3 separate regions of the Homo sapiens genome follow, and regions 1 and 2 are each linked to region 3. Evidence: promoter capture Hi-C in human tissues and cell types (Jung and others, 2019). All regions are on one chromosome and are shown on one strand. Each heading gives the region's core, a stretch centred on a gene start or on the middle of the fragment in contact. The rest is flanking DNA. Distances are from core to core; before and after follow the strand shown. Region 1 has its middle 50 kb from the start of HELQ. Region 2 overlaps SCD5 (stearoyl-CoA desaturase 5). Region 3 holds the start of COPS4 (COP9 signalosome subunit 4).

Region 1 (2,991 bases), core at 431-2,930, 370 kb before region 3:
TTAAAATGCACTAATACTTCAAGGATTAACTAAAAAATGCTAAAATACTGTCTCTTCTATGAAATTATTCCAGGTTCATCCTCACCCCTACCCCATATCTGGGTGCTCTTTCCCTCCTATAAGCATCATAGACCCCGCATTTATACCCAGGTCTTTTTGCTGCCGCTACTTTATAATCTGGATGTCCAAGTCCTGCATGTGTGTATGCGACCAGCACCCACACACTTCACTGCACGAAGTAGGAATCTCAGAGAAGAATGAATACTACCCACAATTAACAATTGGAAGCTTTTCTTTAAACACAATTTAAATATTGCCTCTCCCTTTTCACAATCATAGCTCAAATGTAGATGACACTAGTGCAAGAAAGAAAGTGTTAACTAGCAATATTTATGAGTACTGAACTTGTTTGATTAATGATTAACCCACCTAAGAAACATCCTTTGGAAACTTTGCAATAGATCCATAGTCTAAGTTATTTGTGCCTTAACATTTTAGGCCATTATAATCTGCTAGTCATTTACCTAGAGTACTAGGTAAATACACAGAAAATATCTATGTGCCAGGAACTCTTGTAAGTGCTTTATATGAATTAACTAATTTAATTCTTATATTACCTGTACCTGTAAGACAGGTACTATTATTATCCTCATTTTACAGATGAATAAACTGACACACAGAGAAACTAAAGTAACTTTCCCAAGGTCATAAACTAGTTAGTCACAGAGCGAGGATTCAGACCCATGCAGCCCCAGTGTAACATCCACACACTTAATCATTATACAATAGTGTCTTGGTAAATTTGTCCATTTTATTCCTTCCTAAGTGTTCCTTACACCTGTCCTTGATTTTATCTTTAGCATTACATTCCATCATGCTTGCCCCACTCCCATCCCTGCATTTCCTTACATATGTCAAAGTATGGCATCCTAATGTCCTAGTAGAATTCTGGGCTTCGCCGCACATGTTACATTTGTTGCAGCTAAAAAGATTGTGAAACAGCAGCTGGCTAGCCTGCTGGCTGTTTGGACCAGCCTCTGAGTTGCATTCACAATGGGCCATAGTCCAGTCTTGAGGATTTTTTTAAAGTCTAGAAACCCCAGGTTTACTAGTTAAGTAAAGCTCTGATTCTTTTTTTTTTTTTTTTTTTTTTTTTGAGATGTTAGGGTCTTGCTTTGTCACCTAGTTCGAGGCTCACTCCCGGGCTCAAGTGATTTTCCCACCTCAGCCTCCCAAGTAGCTGGGACTACAGGTGCGTGTCACCGCCCAGCTAATTTTTGTAGAGAAGGAATTTTGCCATGTTGCCCATGCTGTTCTCAAACTCCTGGGCTCAAGTGATCTGCCCGTCTTGGCCCCCAAAGTGGTGGGATTATAGACGTGAGCCACTGTGCCAGGCCAAAGGTCTGATTCTTGCTAACCAATTTGTAAAAAACTGATTTATAATCCAAGATTAATGTATTAATTTAAGATTAGAGGTGAGGGGGCAGGGAGAAGGGTACCTTTACAGTAACTTGAATACCTGTATCTGCAGTTCAGGACAATCTACACACACACACACACACACACACACACACACACACACACACTCTTCTATCAGTGTTTCTCCAGGTCAATCTCAATAAAAGATTGTATCACGTGTAATGGTGGGTGATTAGCCCTAAAAGATATTAAAATGTAAAGAAACTGAAACAGTTTAGTTCTAGAGAAGTAGATAAGTGGGAAGGAACAAAGTGGGGAATAGAAACAGACCTAAATATGTTTAAGAATTTAATGTAATAGACTGGGCAAGGTGGCTCATGCCTGTAATCCCAGCAATTTGGGAGGCCGAGGTGGGAAGATTGCCTGAGTTCAGTAGTTTGAGACCAGCCTGGGCAACATGGCAAAACCCCGTCTCTACTAAAAATACAAAAAATTAGCCTGGCGTGGTGGCACATGCCTGTAGTCCCAGCTACTCGGGAGACTGAGGCACGAGAATCATTTGAACCCGGGAGGCAGAGGAGGCAGTGAGCCGAGATGGCACCACTGCACTCCAACCTGGGCGACAGAACAAGACTCCATCTCAAAAAAAAAATAGTAATAATAATAAACATGGTTTTTCAGTTTTTAGTAATAGAAATGCAAGCATATGTAGCTTAAGCGAAAAGGGACATTTAGTGGCCATGCTCTCAAACAGTAGGCAGCAATAGAATTGGCCTTAGGGCAGTTAGAACCAGAGAATCCTAACACCGTCCATACTCACCATCTCTTCTTTGTGGGGCAGCACCAGACTTGCTTCCTTATGGCTTCAAGATGAAAGCAAAAAGAGCTCTCTGCTGTCAACTCTAGTTAGAAAAATCCCCAGGAAGGGTTCTCATTAGTCCCTTGTGGGTCCATTTCTCACCCCTATGAGCAGGATATAGGGTTTAGGTTTGGGTTTTGGTTCTTCAGAAGACAGAGAAGTGGGGTAAGCAGAGAAAACAGCTAATACAGATGACACTTCAAGTCACAGTGGAAAAGATGGATAACTCAGTGAATGGAATTGAGACAAATGGCTACCACGCCATTTAGAAAAATATTAAGCTTAGCGTGGACAGCATGGCAAGACCCCGTCTCTACAAAAAATTAAAAAATTAGCTAGGCTTGGTGGCGCATACTTGTGGTCCCAGCTCCTTAGGAGGCTGTGGTGGGAGGATCACTTGAGCCTGGGAGTATGAGGCTAGAGTGAGCTGAGATCACATGCTACTGCACTCCAGCCTGGGCAATAGAGCAAGACCCTCTCTCTCTCTCTCTACATATATGTATATTGAGCACTCTATCTATAATATATATTTTATATTATAAATATAAATAGAGAGCTGATTTCTAGCTATTGCTTTAAACCAAATTAAACTTTAGGCAAATCAAAGATTCAAATGTGGAATTTTTGAAGGTGTCATCTGACTATGCTGAAGCATCAAAGAATGTATCTGCAGTTTCTTCTTATAAGGCTTTAAAACAGTAAAATGTCAGTAA
Region 2 (3,011 bases), core at 217-2,716, 300 kb after region 3:
ATTCCTACGACATATTTCTAGTCAAGGAAACATCACCACATTTCTAGATTAAGACCCAAAACACTTCTATTAAAAATGGAAATAACTGTGAGCTATACATGCATTTCGGTAATAAAAACAAGTAAGATAATTTTTTACCCAGTCTTTGGTGAATCGGTGAGTGACAGCAGTCATGTGGTGGGTAAGTCAAGGAATAAGTGTTTGCAATGAGAAAATTGTCAGGAGCCCCCCCTTCCACCATGCAGTTGAAAAACGAGCAGTAACGAATGTGGCGGCTCCTTGAGCGCTTTCGCACTGCGTCGTTTATTGTCGTGTATCTGTAGGATTATTCACTACTTTACAAATTTTTATTTTACTGTAATTTGTATCCATTTATTACCCAACCCGCTTATTGCACTTCAGGGTGGGAGGTAGCCAGAGCCTATCCCCAGCAACTCAAGGCACAAGGTGGTACCCAACCTTGGACAGGACACCATCCCACCATAGGGCCCACACATTCACACACACACAGTCATTCAGATCTGGACCGTGTAGACACGCCAATCAACCTAATGTACAACACACATCTTTGGGATGTGGGAGGAAACCAGAGTACCCAGAGAAAACCCATACAGACATGGGGAGAACTTGCAAACCGCACAGACAGTGGCCTCGGCTGGGAATCAATTTTCAAAAATCTCATCAACATTGTAACAAAACCATGTTGATCAAAATGACACTTTTTTGAGGACCTGCTATAATGCTAAATGAAAAATTGTTGAGCTCAGGCTGGGCGTGGTGGCTCACACCTGTAATCCCAGCACTTTGGGAGGCTGAGGTGGGCAGATTGCCTGAGCTCAGGAGTTCGAGACCAGCCTGGGCAACATGATGAAACCCCATCTCTACTAAAAAAAGTACAAAAAATTAGCTGGGCATGGTGGCACACACCTGTAATCCCAGCACTCTGGGAGGCTGAGGCACAAGAATTGCTTGAGCCCGGGAGGCAGAGGTTGCAGTGAGCCGAGAACGTGCCACTGCACTCCAGCCTGGGCAATAAAGTGAGACCCTGTCTCAAAAAAAAAAAAAAAATTGAGCTCAACTTTATAAATATTGACTATAGGCTTGTTTTAAAAAAAAAGCCCAAGCAACAATACAGCTAAAAAGAGATAATTTGTTACATGGCAGGATGAGAAGTTAATTTGATTTTTCTGTTGCTTTGATGTTTTGTATTTATCTCTCATTACAAAATTGGTTAAAAGCACAATTTTAAAGACTGCAATATATATTGTTAAACATCAAGGACAGAAAAAAGGTAAACCCTTACATCTCCTTTATGTGGTTTCTCACAGCTGTGCAGATCTGAAACACAAGCTAGAATAGCACAAAAACTGCATCTCGGAGCTGCACAAATTTCCTCGATTATACGTAGAGGAAAAGTGTGATTACCAAGAGCTTTGAGTGGATGTCGGAGAAAGTCATGTTGGGTTAACTGTCTGGTTGGCTCATCCGATGACAGAGCTTTACCTACTTGGATCTGATGCTGGGATTGTTTTGTTTGGTTTGGGTTTCTTTGGAAGTGAGGGAGGCCAGTATGGGATACAGGAAAGAGGGAAAGCATTGACTCCTTTCCACTAGTAAGCATTTGCCTCCTTCATCAAGCCAGTGCCACATTTCTGCATCCTTCGGCTTCCTTCTTCTGGTCTGATCCTTCTTGCCCCATAAGCTTGGCATTCTCTGATGGTTATTTTTGCTGTGTTATCTACCTCTAACAGCAACAGTAATCTTAATAAAATATAGTCTCACATTTCCTCCAAGTAGCTAGACGTTCTTAAGGCTTTAGACACAGCCTTCATTGTATGTAATAGTGGCCATTTTTCTTTTTGTCCTTGCACCTGTGTAAGCAGGGCACTAAATCTTGTAGGTCTCACCCTGATTTGCCTCTTTGCAGCAGCAAGGACACCTGAGTCTCTGTACTTTGACATAGATTTCTGCTTACATCGGGCAGTTCTGAGTCAGAGGGTGGTGGGCCTGAGTCACCACCATCTGCTTTCATCAACCATGTTCCCGAGACCCAGAGTGGGGAGATTCCCATGGCCCCATTCAGGCACGTACAGAGGCTTCATGAGCATGTGCTTCCCTAGCAGAGGCGAGAATGGCGCAGGGACCCTTGTGAATTTTTACTGGAGAAATTGTTACGGAATTCTCAGGCTCTTGTTTCCAAATTCTTTCTTCCCTCTCTTCTCTTTCCCATATTTTTCTTTTTCCCCCTCCACACATTAGAAGGCTTCAAGATAATAAGGTAATATTTATTGGGGACATGATGTGTATCAGGCACACTTATGCATATTAACCTATTTAATCTTCACAACCACCCTATGAGGTAGGTGGGCACAGCTATTATCCTCATTTTACAGCCAATGAAATAGGCAGAGAGGGTAACTTCTCCAAGCTCACTACATGGGAGAAGCAAGCTTCACACCCAAGCAGTTGGCCCAGAGTGCAGGCTGTGGGCCACTGTGCTCTGTGCATCGTAACAGGGCACCAGAGCTAGCTTGCCTGTGCTCTGGGGAGGGGGCTGATGTGAAAGAGACCAAAGCTAGAGTGAAGAGTGAGGTGTGGGAGTGCATGCTGGTGGTGTGTGGGGCGTGTGCGTGGAGAGCCTGACCTGTTTTCCTGTCGTCCTGTCATTTACTCTGTGAGTACGCCCAGTTACTTAACCTCTTTGCTTCTCAGTTCCCTAGTTCATAAAATTCCAGGAATATGAATAGCGCTTAACCCCTCATAGGGTTGTTGTGATGATTAACTGTGTTAATAAAGTCCCTAGGACAGTGGCTGGTCCATGAATGTTAGCCATTATCATCAGCATCATCATTAATTTGGGAACCACTCCACCTCCTCTTTCTACTAGACTGGTAGTGACAAAAATAACATTTCTAGCAAGTTCCAGGTGGTGCCAATGCTTCCTGCCTGGGAATCACACTTTGAGAACCACTGAGGTGGAGGATCTGGAAGTTCTTCCTTTCTTAGCACCC
Region 3 (3,178 bases), core at 174-2,673:
TATATGCACACACATACTCATCTTGTCCTCAGATAATGTCAGACAAGAATAAGTCCTATTATTATCTTCATTTTCCTGAGTGGGAAAATGCAGCACAAAGTAGTTAAGCCCAAAATATACGGCTGAATTTCCCACTGATAAAAGTAGATTACGTTTGCCACCAGAGAAAAGGCAGCCTAGCCTACTTAAAACAGTCAGAATTTCAATGACCAGGTTAGAACAGGTGTATCCCATTAATATACATCAAAGTGATTTCAGCTGTCAGGATGTAAACATTAAGATCAACTTGAGAGGCATACTTTATTTACTTATTTATTTACGGAGACGGGTGGCGGCGGGGGGGGGGGTCTCACTATGTTGCCCAGGCTGGTCTAGAACTCCTGCCCTCAAGTGATCCTCCCTCTCAGATCTCTCAGGCCTCAAGTGATCTCAGCCTCTCAAAGTGCTGGGATTACAGGCGTGAGCCACTGCACCCGGCCTAGAGAGGCATACTTTAAACAGAAAGCATGTTCATTACAAAAGAGAAATGCTGTGACATCTACAAAGAGAAAATGAACAATATACGTCTACCTACCTATGCTTAATACTGTTGACAACTGCTTGCAGAACAGGCACGTCACACATTTTAACTTGGAGTGAACCTAAGCATTCTATATAAATTTCGACAAAATTCAGATTCCTGCAAACATCACTACTGTAGACATCCTGACCCACGATATGAGCACATTCCGCCTATGTGCCATCAGAGTTGGTGGCAGAGAAAATACCCGAAACACAAGGACCCACAGAAGACAGTCTGAATGGTCTGGACGACATGACAGCGGCCATACCGCCTCAACCTCAGCCAGCCCCAAGAAGCCATCTCCCCGAAAAACGCAGCATCAAGGCCCCAGAATATACATTTCTCTGAATCAAAAAAAAAGAGGAGGAAGGTCCAAAGAGAGGCCAGATTCGGTGTGAGGCCGGCCAGCGATGGGAAGAGGTACCAGGGAAGGCTACTAAGGCCAGGGTAGCAGTCGTCTCTCAGACCGCTGTTCCAAAATCCTAAGGGACCAGAAAGATTCTATCAAGAACTGAACAAGCTGACAATCATTTCAAGTCTATAGCCTCGAAGGCCCCTGCACAAGGTCCCCTCCAGCTTTCTGCTTCTCCCAACATTTGCCTCCCCAGCCGACCTCAGGCCCGCCCCCTTGGACGTCAGGCCGGCTCCTAGCTTCACGCCCAAGAGCCGTGGCCAACCTAAGGAGATTAAGGCTGTGGCTTTCTTTCCCCACCTCTGTACTCCCGCGTTCCTGGGAAATACTCACTTGCCAGCCAGATCTTTATGAGAGCCGCTCGAATTCATGAGCTGGGCCAAATCCTGTCGCACGGCTGCCGCCATCTTTCTCCCAGCTCAGCGGTGGATGCGGGGGCCTCTGGCAGCCAAAAAGAAAACGAGTGTGGTCCTCCAGAGTGCAGCCAGAGGGAACCTGAGATGCTACAGAGTAGCGTCTGTGTGGGCCAGAGCGTCGGGTGTGGGAGCCTGGGCTAGCTCCGCCCCCAGGGTTGAGTGATGCGGAGCTCCACTCCTCAGGTCTGAGGCCTGCCCAGGTCTCTCCTACAGGCTCTGGCTCTCACGCTTGGACTTTGGATTGGCTGATGAACTCCAGTAGTGAGTCTCTGGTGTAACTCCAATGAGTAGCCGGTACATAAAACGACTGCGTTTTCGCAAAGTTCCGTTTCTCACGTCTGTGGTTTACCGTCCTTCGATCTTTCAGGCAGCGCTTAAACTGCCTGTGGTAAAGAATGAGTTTTGTTTCCGATTCACCACAGAAGATACTTTTTAGAAATACAATTAAAATGTCCCTATTCCTCCTCCCACTCCGTGCACTTTATAATGGTTGGTCAGACATTCCAGTTTGTCCAGTACAAAGCGATTTTCCCTCTGTCGTCCTGGAGTAATGATTAATATCCCCCCTTTCGGCCGGGCGCGGTGGCTCACGCCTGTAATCCCAGCACTTTGGGCAGCCGAGGCGGGCGGATCACGAGGTCAAGAGATCGAGGCCATCCTGGCTAACACGGTGAAACCCCGTTCTCTACTAAAAATACAAAAAAATTAGCCGGGCGTAGGTGGTGCACCCCTGTAGTCCCAGCAACTCGGGAGGCTGAGGCAGGAGAATGGCGTGAACCCGGGAGGCGGAGTTTGCAGTGAGCCGAGATCGCGCCACTGCACTCCAGCCTGGGAGACACAGCGAGACTCGGTCTCAAAAAATAATAATAATAATAATAACATCCTCCCTTTCATTCTAGAAACCGTTCCATTTCAATGGAAGATTATATGGTCGCCTGCGTTTGTATAACATTCAATACTCATGTATTCTTATAGAATTTCTGCAAATACAAGCAAATATTAATAAAATAAAATTTTACCTCTCACAAGCAACACCACATAATTGTTCTGCCTTGGTTTTTTTTTTTTGCACTTTTCCTGGTACTGTGGTTTGAAATAATTGTCTTCTCCAAAACTCATGTTGAGGGCTGGCGCCGTGGCTCACGTCTGTAATCCCAGCACTTTGGGAGGCCGAGGTGGACGGATCACCTGAGGTCGGGAGTTCGAGACCAGCCTGACCAACATGGAGAAACCCCGTCTCAACTAAAAATACAAAAATTAGCTGGGTGTGGTGGCACGTGCCTGTAATCTCAGCTACTCGGGAGGCTGAGGCACGAGAATCACTTGAAGCTGGAAGGCGAAGGTTACGGTGAGCCAAGATTGCACCACTGCACTCCAGCCTGGGCAACAAGAGGGAAATTCCGTCTCAAAAAAAAAAAAAAAAACAAACAACTCATGTTGAAACTTCATCTTTAATGTGGCAGTATTTAGAGGTGGGCCTTAAATAGGTGATTGGATCATGAGGGCAAAACCCTTGATCTATTCATGGATTAATGGGTTGTCATGGGAGAGAACATGTGGCTTTATTAGAAGAGGAAGAGACCTGAGCTAGCATGTTAGGAAGGTCACTCCCTTGCCATGTGATACCCTGTGCTGCTTCTGAACTCTAGCAAGTCCCCACCAGCAAGAAGGGTCTCATTAGATGTGGCCCCTTGACCTTAGACTTCTTGGCCTTCATAACTCTAAGATATAAATTCCTTTTCTTTATAAATTACCCAGTTTCAGGTATTCTGGTATAAGCAACAGAAA

The links. Contacts are between HindIII fragments. The study calls those that stand out against the background at their distance.
Region 1: a contact is called between a fragment that was not itself captured here and the fragment with the promoter of COPS4 in region 3, in 1 of the 25 tissues and cell types used here (spleen).
Region 2: a contact is called between a fragment that was not itself captured here and the fragment with the promoter of COPS4 in region 3, in 1 of the 25 tissues and cell types used here (dorsolateral prefrontal cortex).

The regions. Positions count from the first base shown.
Region 1 is chr4:83,404,073-83,407,063 of GRCh38, reverse strand. No RefSeq gene overlaps it. Among named protein-coding and RNA genes, the nearest start is that of HELQ, 50 kb to the left of the region's middle. The HindIII fragment of the contact is 4,594 bases long and covers 1-2,991 here.
Region 2 is chr4:82,732,824-82,735,834 of GRCh38, reverse strand. The region is part of intron 1 of SCD5 (stearoyl-CoA desaturase 5); the gene reads left to right. Among named protein-coding and RNA genes, the nearest start is that of MIR575, 19 kb to the left of the region's middle. The HindIII fragment of the contact is 5,915 bases long and covers 1-3,011 here.
Region 3 is chr4:83,033,428-83,036,605 of GRCh38, reverse strand. COPS4 (COP9 signalosome subunit 4) reads right to left here and starts at 1,423. Exons shown (of 10, transcript NM_016129.3): 1 at 1,308-1,423. The coding sequence starts at 1,381. RefSeq lists enhancers at 934-993, 535-1,040, 1,054-1,113, 1,154-1,203, 1,304-1,653 and 2 more. The HindIII fragment of the contact is 7,675 bases long and covers 1-3,178 here.